Regions from separate parts of the Homo sapiens genome. Here all the other regions are linked to region 3. The links are contacts of gene promoters, found by promoter capture Hi-C in blood cells and fetal thymus (Javierre and others, 2016). All regions are on one chromosome and are shown on one strand. The core of a region is centred on a gene start or on the middle of the fragment in contact, and the rest is flanking DNA. Distances in the headings are between cores, read along the strand shown. Region 1 holds the start of CDK4 (cyclin dependent kinase 4). Region 2 holds the start of SCAT2 (S-phase cancer associated transcript 2). Region 3 holds the start of DDX23 (DEAD-box helicase 23).

Region 1 (3,063 bases), core at 564-3,063, 8.9 Mb before region 3:
AAGCAGACAGAGAGGACGTCTTCTGTTGCAAAGACAGTAAGCTGTGAAGGTCTTATGTGGAAGGTGAGGCTGAAGTGGGGAATGCTGGTGTGGGAAGGGAGTTTGAAAAACTCACAGACAATTATCTTAGCCTTCCAGAAGGCTTACAAAGCACCCACCCCTAGCAAGGTAGCCAATAAAACATTCACCTCTTGAGCCCCTTAGTCAGTTCAGTCCTTGAGGTTTTTCTTACTAGTGTTCCAGCTGCCCTTGCCAGGAGGGGCCCAGGGCTACAAGTATCAGGATGGAAAGAGGAGGCATCTGTATTAATATGTATTCTATTTTGCTCTAAGTCATGGTTTATATTCATCTTCTAGTTTGAACTCTTATATTCTCAGCCAGATGGTTAAGGAAAACAGAAGTTAGAGTGGAAGGAGTGGCAAATAGGGTAATAAAATGGCTTTAGATTTTAGACAAATTCTCACAAATGAGACACTAACCGCTTTCCTCCTTTACTCCCATACCCCCAAAGGGCTGGGAGATAAAGACCTTGGAGCCAATAAAACAAAGTAGGAGAAATCTACTTGTGTCTACCTAGGTGTCTGGGCAGAGGCCATTTGGGAACAAGTGTGTTCTGGACAGTGCTAAGTGCTAAGAAAGCGGCACTAGGGAAAAAGAGGGAAGCACAATAACTCCAAATGAGTAGTCACAAGGTTTGCAGAAGGGGGCATGTCATTTTCATTCATTGTGGTGGTCTGGAGGGTGCAGGGGGTGTGGTGGTAACTTTCTTGCACATGTGCAATCCTGTATCCGTCTTATATATGATGTGATAAATAATATCATATACATACATATATACATAGAAGCATATATGCACACATACAAATATCACATAATCATAGAACCTTCCTACTGGAAAAAAAAAAAAAACTTAAAAGGTCAAGTATTCCTGTCTCCTGCTCATCAATAACTTCTCTGCCAGATGGCCTCAGGTCTTTGCATTAACACTCCCAGGGAGGTTTGGAAGTTGGAAAAGTGAGAGGATTACCTTGTCACTGAGCCTGTTGGATTACTGTATTAATCTGCCTTCCGTCATCCTTTAATCGTAGTTTTGCCCTCAAATGGGCATTGTTTACTCCCTATTGTAGAAGACCCCATTGTTGGCTACATCTTTATAGATAGTCGTACCACTACTTTAAAGGGCCAGTGACAGACACCAAAAACAAAATAAAAACCCACATACACACTGGAAGCAAGCACTCAGTAAAATGTTGTAGAATTAATGAATGAAACAATGACACAAATGAGAGTATGTTTTCTCATGGTGGAGCGAAAAGGTGACAGCATCACCTCTGGTACCCCAACTCCCACCCCCTCCCCAATGCAGACAGGCTGAAAGACCGGTAGTGAGACTGGAGTTCAGCCTTCAGACCGGTAGTGAGACAATCCTTCAGCCGGGAGTTGGGCTCTGGGTGGCCTAGGTTGCCATGGCACCGCCTCGGGCTCCACCCTCTCTTGTCCCCCTCACCGCTCCCCCCCTGCAGCGGGGGTTGTGGCAGCCAGTCACGTGCCCGCCGCGTAGCCACACCTCTGCTCCTCAGAGCAATGTCAAGCGGTCACGTGTGATAGCAACAGATCACGTGGCTGCCATCGCCCCTCCGCCCCCTTACACTCTTCGCCCTCCTCCCAGTCGAAGCACCTCCTGTCCGCCCCTCAGCGCATGGGTGGCGGTCACGTGCCCAGAACGTCCGGCGTTCGCCCCGCCCTCCCAGTTTCCGCGCGCCTCTTTGGCAGCTGGTCACATGGTGAGGGTGGGGGTGAGGGGGCCTCTCTAGCTTGCGGCCTGTGTCTATGGTCGGGCCCTCTGCGTCCAGCTGCTCCGGACCGAGCTCGGGTGTATGGGGCCGTAGGAACCGGCTCCGGGGCCCCGATAACGGGCCGCCCCCACAGCACCCCGGGCTGGCGTGAGGTAAGTGCAGTCCCTTCCCAGGAATGAGAACCAGTGCCCGCCCCCCTCACAGCTTTCCACGCGTTCGTTTCGCGAGCTGGTTATGGAAGGGTCGCTCAAGGGCGGGAAGTGGGGCCTTTGTGGTCATGGGAAAGTATAATTTTAGGGACTGAGGTGTAGGATCTTCGATGCAAGGCATGTGTCATGTGTGATCTTTGTGCGGGGCGCGATTGTCCCAAAGGAAAAAGCGTTTTCTATTGCAGGGCCTCACGTGGCTGGAGGGGTTGGTATTGAGTCATTGTGTTATCTCTGGGGCCGGCCCCAAGGAAGACTGGGAGCGGGGGATGGGATGCTGGTGGTGTTCTTTGCGCTTTTTTTTTGGGAGTCCCTTTGTTGCTGCAGGCTCATACCATCCTAACTCTGTAAGCGACTTTTGGTGATAGGAGTCTGTGATTGTAGGGTCTCCCTTGATCTGAGAATGGCTACCTCTCGATATGAGCCAGTGGCTGAAATTGGTGTCGGTGCCTATGGGACAGTGTACAAGGCCCGTGATCCCCACAGTGGCCACTTTGTGGCCCTCAAGAGTGTGAGAGTCCCCAATGGAGGAGGAGGTGGAGGAGGCCTTCCCATCAGCACAGTTCGTGAGGTGGCTTTACTGAGGCGACTGGAGGCTTTTGAGCATCCCAATGTTGTCCGGTGAGAAGGTGGTGGAGGGTTGGGCGTGGGGAGTAAAGGGAAAAGACAGCCTATAGGTGGGGTGTGATGATCTGTAGAGAAGTGGGGACCCTGAGGAAATAATGAGAGGCCATGTTGGGTTAAAGGGGATTGAAAAGTGAGCATTTACTCTGGTCAGGCTGATGGACGTCTGTGCCACATCCCGAACTGACCGGGAGATCAAGGTAACCCTGGTGTTTGAGCATGTAGACCAGGACCTAAGGACATATCTGGACAAGGCACCCCCACCAGGCTTGCCAGCCGAAACGATCAAGGTGAGTGGGGTTGGTAGGCATTGAGAGGTGGATTGGGACCTTTGTAGTAGAACCTTCTGGGATTTCAGGTATGGTGCCTAGTTTCCAGTGCATCTGTACCTCCCCTTTGAAACTAGGATCTGATGCGCCAGTTTCTAAGAGGCCTAG
Region 2 (2,956 bases), core at 173-2,672, 5.4 Mb before region 3:
GAGTCTCACGCTGTCTCCCAGGCTGGAGTGCAGTGGTGCGATCTCGGCTCACTGCAAGCCCCGCCTCCTGGGTTCACACCATTCTTTTGCCTCAGCCTCCCCAGTAGCTGGGACTACAGGCTCCCGCCACCACATCTGGCTAATTTTTTGTATTTTTAGTAGAGACAGGGTTTCACCATGTTAGCCAGGATGGTCTCAATCTCCTGACCTCGTGAGCCACTGCGCCTGGCCTTTTTTTTTCTTTTTTCTTTTCTTTTTTTTTTTTTTTTTTTTTGAGATAGAGTCTTACCCTGTTGCCCAGGCTGGAGTGCAGTGGCGCGATCTCAGCTCACTGCAACCTCCGCCTCCCGTTTAAGCGATTCTCCTGCCTCACCCTCCTGAGTAGCTGGGATTACAGGTGCGTAACTGCCTCAGCCTCCCGAGTAGCTGGGATTACACCACGCCTGACTAATTTTTTTGTGTCTTTAGTAGAGACGGGGTTTCACCATGTTGGCCAGGCTGGTCTCAAACTCCTGACCTCATGATCCACCTGCCTTGGCTTCCCAAAGTGCTGGGATTACAGGCGAGAGCCGCTGTGCCGGCCTACCTCTTGTTTTTCTGGGTTGCCCTAGCTTGCTTGTGATGCCCTCTCTGTAATTGCTGAGGACTGATAAGTTTTTTGTTTGGTTTTTTTTTGAGACGGAGTTTTGCCCTTGTTGTCCAGGCTGGAGTGCAATGGCTTGATCTCGGCTCACTGCAACCTCCATCTTCTGGGTTCAAGTGATTCTCCTGCCTCAGCCTCCCAAGTAGCTGAGATAACAGGTGCCTGCCACCACACCTGGCTAATTTTTGTATTTTTAGTAGAGACAGGGTTTCACCATGTTGGCCAGGTTGGTCTGGAACTCCTGACCTCAGGAGATCTGCCCGCCTCGGCCTACCAAAGTGCTGGGATTACAGGCGTGAGCCACCGCGCCCAGCCTCTTTTCTCATCTCAATGGGCCTTAGGTGCTGTAATCTATAGTTATTGGTAGCTTTACCAGATAGTTCCTATGTATATTTAAGAGAGAAGGCTGAGAGCTGTTATGCCTGAAAGACTCCAGAAATTTGAGAAGCTACTCACCCTTTCCCTTGGAGATTTCCACAAGGATAAGGTTGTGTTCAGAGGCTCATCTTCTTTTCCTCTGTCATGGTATTGGGATTCTATCTTAATCACTCCATCATCCTGCCAGCCATGTCTCATTTCTCATGCTGGAAAGCTCCCTCCTCCTAAGCTCAGTGTGAACCACCAGTCTTGATGCTTTATCTGGTCTAGGCTCTAGCCCTTAAATTGTTTGACTGGCTTTGTGTTTCATTTGACCCTAATACTCCGGGTCACACTGTCTAAAAGAGAATTATGTCCCCTCCGATGTCTGAGTGCATTTCTCATTTCTTACTGCTGCTCCTGAGCAGATCTGTAACTTCAAGGTTAAGATAAGACACATTCCATCAGAACTATGTCGTCATCCTTGCCAGCTTCTGATCTGTGACTGTCTAGGAGATTTACAAGACAATTGCATGCCATCCTTTAAAGAATATTATGGTTGTACTCTGACTCCTGGCATCAGGCCCAATTCGATTTGTCAGTGGTTACAAAACCCATTTCCCAAAAAGAAAAGGACCTCGGCCCATGTGCCCTTTAGGCAGTTCTTAAGGGTGGAAAGGAGGGAATTGAACTCAATCTTTATTTTCTGATGTTTTGTGGGGAGGGGTGGACACCAGAATATTTTTGTCTCTTTCCTCATTAAATTCACTTTTCTTTCTCTGAAAGGTTTCACCAAAATGTTAGTATTGCTGTCATTCTCTCCTGTTCCTTATTCCTTCACAGAGTTACTATTAGTCTTTTCATTCTGCCATCTTTAAAGTTTGTCTGAGTTTTAAGGAATAAGTATTTTGCCCTTGAGAGAGAACGTACCTACCCTGTTCTCTGAAGGTTTATTCGTTTTCCAGTGCCTAGTTAACAAAGACACTGTTCCTCTTTTTCTTGCTATCTACTAATGTGTTGAGCTGCAGGAGTTACTGCATGTGATATGGTTTACTAGCTTAGGAATTTGGAAGGTCACATATTTTCTTCTGCTGTTGTATTCAGCCCTGACATATTTTTACAGAAGGTTCTTTTTGGGGGACTTAATAGATCTTTGGTTTCAACATAAACTCACTTTTTCCCTCGGAGGTACGTAGGGCAGGTAGTACAGATTTATTTAGCCCGTTTAAATGATGCCGGGGTTAGATGGAAAATTTATTTACTCAGGATAACACATGGCAAGTTAATCAGAGTCAGGATCCTATTTAAATGTTTGTTATTGTTTTTATATCCCTTAATTATGAAAAGTTAAAAGGTAAGAGTTGAAAAATGCCGTTTTTAATTGGAGGTTTGCTGATGGTCCATTCAAATCTGAGGAAATCTTTTGTAATTAAAAAATTTCTGGCCGGGTGCAGTGTCTCATGCCTGTAATCCCAGCACTTTGGGAGGCCCAGGTGGGCGGATCACAAGATGAGGAAATCGAGACCATCCTGGCCAACATGATGAAACCCCATCTCTGCTAAAAATACAAAAATTAGCTGGGCGTGGTGGCACATGCCTGTAATCCCAGCTACTTGGGAGGCTGAGGCAGGAGAATCCCTTGAACCAGGGAGTTGGAGGTTGCAGTAAGCCGAGATGGCGCCACAGCACTCTAGCCTGGTGACAGAGCGAGACTCCGTCTCAAAAAAAAAAAAGAAAAAAGAAAAAAATTTCTACTTTGGTCTTACACCCTATGGTTTCTTCTGTTTGACAGTCGTAATAGTCACCATTGTGCTTCTTCTCAACTGAGTTCTTTTTTTTTTTTTTTTGAGACGGTTTCGCTCTTGTTGCTCAGGCTGGAGTGCAGTGGCGCAGTCTCGGCTCACTGCAACCTCTGCCTCCCAGGTTCAAGCGATTCTCCTGCCTTAGCCTCCCAAG
Region 3 (2,909 bases), core at 386-2,885:
AGTGCAGTGGCACGAGCATGGCTCACTGCGACCTCGACCTCCTGGGCTCAAGCAGTCCTCCTGTCTTGGCCTCCCAAAGTGCTGAGATACAAGCATGAGCCACCTCACCTGGCCCATTCTTTTAACTATGTGGCCTTTGAAGGCATAATTACTCTTTCTGGGCCACAATCTCCTTACCAGTAAAATGGAGATAGCACTCATCTCATACTGCTATGAGAACTAAGTAAAACAAATAAGGTAGGTTAAGTGTCCAGCCCAGAGCTGAGCACTTAGAAGATTCTCAATAAAAAGTGGCTGCAGTTTTTGAAGATTCTGGCCTACCATGGTTGGTCTGATTCTTAGTTTAATCTGTGAATCTGTGAGTCGAGCGCCCTCTCGTGCTTTTGTGGTGAATTACACCTAACAGATCTCAGAGCTCTCTTCTTTCCCTTGCGTTCTCTCTGGAGTAGAAGCTGGGAGGTGAAAGGCTGCAGGTTCTAAGAGAAGTGTGTGTCTCCGAGGGTTACTTTGGGCCATTGTACGTGATGCTCAGGGCTTTAGGATTACTTGGGTCTATCCTGAGGCTCTGCTTGAGAGCTTGGGCATATTCAGAGAGAAAAGGCAGACCTACAGCCATGTGGAATTGAAGCAACAAACCTGCTGCTGGCAAAATGGGAAGGGAGGTCCGAGATACTTCTGGTTATCTAAACCGTTTCCGCAACTGCAATGTTTTGTTTTGTTTTGAGGGAAAGAGTTATGAACCCATAAGACCAAAGAGAAACACAAAGTGAACTTACGATTTGAGGTTAAAACAACAACAACAACATCAACAACAACAACAACAGCAACAACAAAACTCAGTGGAAGACTGAAGTAGGGGAATCTGGGGGAAGAAAGAAGCAAAAATACCAAGATAGCTCAACAATTGGTCACATTCCAAAGGGCAAGAAATTGAGGAAACCAGGGTTCCATCTGGAATGTTGAGAAAACAGGTGCTAGAGCCCAGGAGATACCATCCTTCCGGGAGGACTTTAGAGCCCATTGTGTGGGCTCATTTGGAGCTGTAACAATAACTGGGGGTTGTTATGGCATTCACCCGGCTGCAGGGGCCAAGGTTGCTAAAACGTCCTCCTAAGCCTGGGATAGTTCCACACACAATGGAGAACTGCATCACCCTCCTTGTGAACCTACTCCGGTAACCTGATCTTTAGTTTGTCCAACTGTAAAATGGGGCTAGCCCCATTCTCACAGAATTATTATAAAAACCGCTTTTCCACGAATGGTATTTATTGTTACTGCGGTTGTTAGCTATAATTACGTACTACAGATATCTCAGGAAGCCCTTAAATTCCTCCACTGTAAGCCACGGGCAAGGACAGTCATAGACCGTAGTTTCTAGGAAGACCAGCCGATTCCAAGAAGGGTGCTCGGCGGGAGAACCTAATGCCGAAAGCCTATTGGCGAAAAACTCTTCCTTCCCGGACGCTAACGTCTGGCAAACCACATTGCCCGGCAGACCCCGCAGCCTGGGGCCGGCGCTCAAGTCATGCATTCTGGGATTGGTAGTTTCCAGGCCTCAGTGTCGGCCTGTGCCGCCCAGCTCCAGGAACTCGCCTTCCCAGCTTGCCTCGCGGCCGGGGGGGTGGGGGGTGTTCATCTCCGCGACCAGGAAACGGGAAAGATGGCGACGGCTCCGCGACGTTGAGGCCGCGTTGGGCGGTTCAGACTCAGGGTGGTGAGTCCCGGGCGGTGGAGGCGGTTCCCACGAGCTTACAGAAAGGGCTAGAGTCAGGGCACGGCGGTGGCCCCTGCCTCCTGGATGAGGCGGGAAAGAACGCCTCAGAGAAGGGGCATGAACCCGGGAAGCTCGGGCGGGCTGGAGTGAAGGGGCGCGGGCCCCAGGGGTAGTGTTGGCTCCTCCGGGCACAGGCCACGTCCCTGCACGATATTTTCCTCCCAGGACTCTGCCTATGGGCACAGCGCCTCTGATACCCCCAGTCTGACCTTATTCTTTCATGCTTAAAGTAGCCTTTGGTGCAGCCAAACTGGAACTCTGGCTTTTCTCTCGCAGTCAGTCCATGTTTTCCCGCCTCTGCGCCGGCCGTATTATTTCTTTTGCCGGGAATGACTTCTTTTCCGCGTCCTTAATTACATATCTTAAAATTCTACTTATACTTAAAAGCTCAAGCGTCACTTCCTCTTCCAAGCCTTCCACATCACCTTTTACAAGTGAAAGGAAACGCCTTTGAACACCTGTATTACTACATCTGAGCCTTGATACTCTTCTTGGTATGTGTCTCATACCCCCTATTGTTCTTTTTTTTCTTTTCTTTTCTTTTTTTTTTTGAGACGGAGTCTCGCTCTGTCGCCTAGGCTGGAGTGCAATGGCACGATCTTGGTTCTCTGCAACCTCCGCCTCCCGGGTTCAAGCGATTCTCCTGTCTCAGCCTCCCGAGTAGCTGTGATTACAGGCGCACGCCGCCACGCCCGGCTAATTTTTTGTATTTTTAGTAGAGACGGGGTTTCACCGTGTTCCCCAGGCTGGTCTCGAACTCCTGAGCTCAGGCAATCCACCTGTCTCGGCCTCTTAAAGTGTTAGGATTACATGCGTGAGCCACCGCGTCCGACCTCATAACCCTGTTGTTCTAAACACTTCCTGTGAACAGAATTTATTTTTGTAACTCACATAGCACCTAGCACTGTGCCTTGCGTACAGTAGATGCTTGTTAAATACGTCATTGAGTGAAAAAAAAGAATGTGCCCCTGCCCTGCAAGAACTGAGGACCTGAAGATCTGGAGGTTTGAGAGGAAGGCTGCTGGGAAGCATGGCCAGAGTCAGCCTGGTTATTTGGCCCTTGTGATAATAGAACCTGTAATAAAAGTTGCCTGTATTTACTGTCTTCTTCTCATTTTTCATTCTCTTCCAAACT

The links. The method cuts DNA at HindIII sites, captures the fragments that hold promoters and counts their contacts. A CHiCAGO score of 5 or more calls a contact.
Region 1: a contact is called between the fragment with the promoter of CDK4 here and the fragment with the promoter of DDX23 in region 3, in 1 of 17 cell types (monocytes). The highest score is 7.6, in monocytes.
Region 2: the fragment with the promoter of SCAT2 here is called in contact with the fragment with the promoter of DDX23 in region 3 in 1 of 17 cell types (neutrophils); the score reaches 5.7 in neutrophils.

What each region holds. Positions count from the first base shown.
Region 1 is chr12:57,751,060-57,754,122 of GRCh38, reverse strand. It overlaps CDK4 (cyclin dependent kinase 4), which reads left to right and starts at 1,813. Exons shown (of 8, transcript NM_000075.4): 1 at 1,813-1,948; 2 at 2,387-2,623; 3 at 2,781-2,916; 4 at 3,033-3,063. The coding sequence starts at 2,406. RefSeq lists silencers at 1,364-1,483, 1,714-1,793, 2,524-2,663 and an enhancer at 1,454-2,187. The HindIII fragment of the contact is 8,675 bases long and covers 1-3,063 here.
Region 2 is chr12:54,261,081-54,264,036 of GRCh38, reverse strand. SCAT2 (S-phase cancer associated transcript 2) reads right to left here and starts at 1,422. Exons shown (of 2, transcript NR_157844.1): 1 at 1,100-1,422. The region is part of intron 1 of CBX5 (chromobox 5); the gene reads left to right. The HindIII fragment of the contact is 3,994 bases long and covers 1-2,956 here.
Region 3 is chr12:48,850,889-48,853,797 of GRCh38, reverse strand. DDX23 (DEAD-box helicase 23) reads left to right here and starts at 1,635. Exons shown (of 17, transcript NM_004818.3): 1 at 1,635-1,714. It overlaps LOC105369755 (a long non-coding RNA gene), which reads right to left and starts at 2,077. Exons shown (of 2, transcript XR_944925.3): 1 at 1,984-2,077; 2 at 1,249-1,748. RefSeq lists enhancers at 501-710, 1,590-1,779. The HindIII fragment of the contact is 5,632 bases long and covers 1-2,909 here.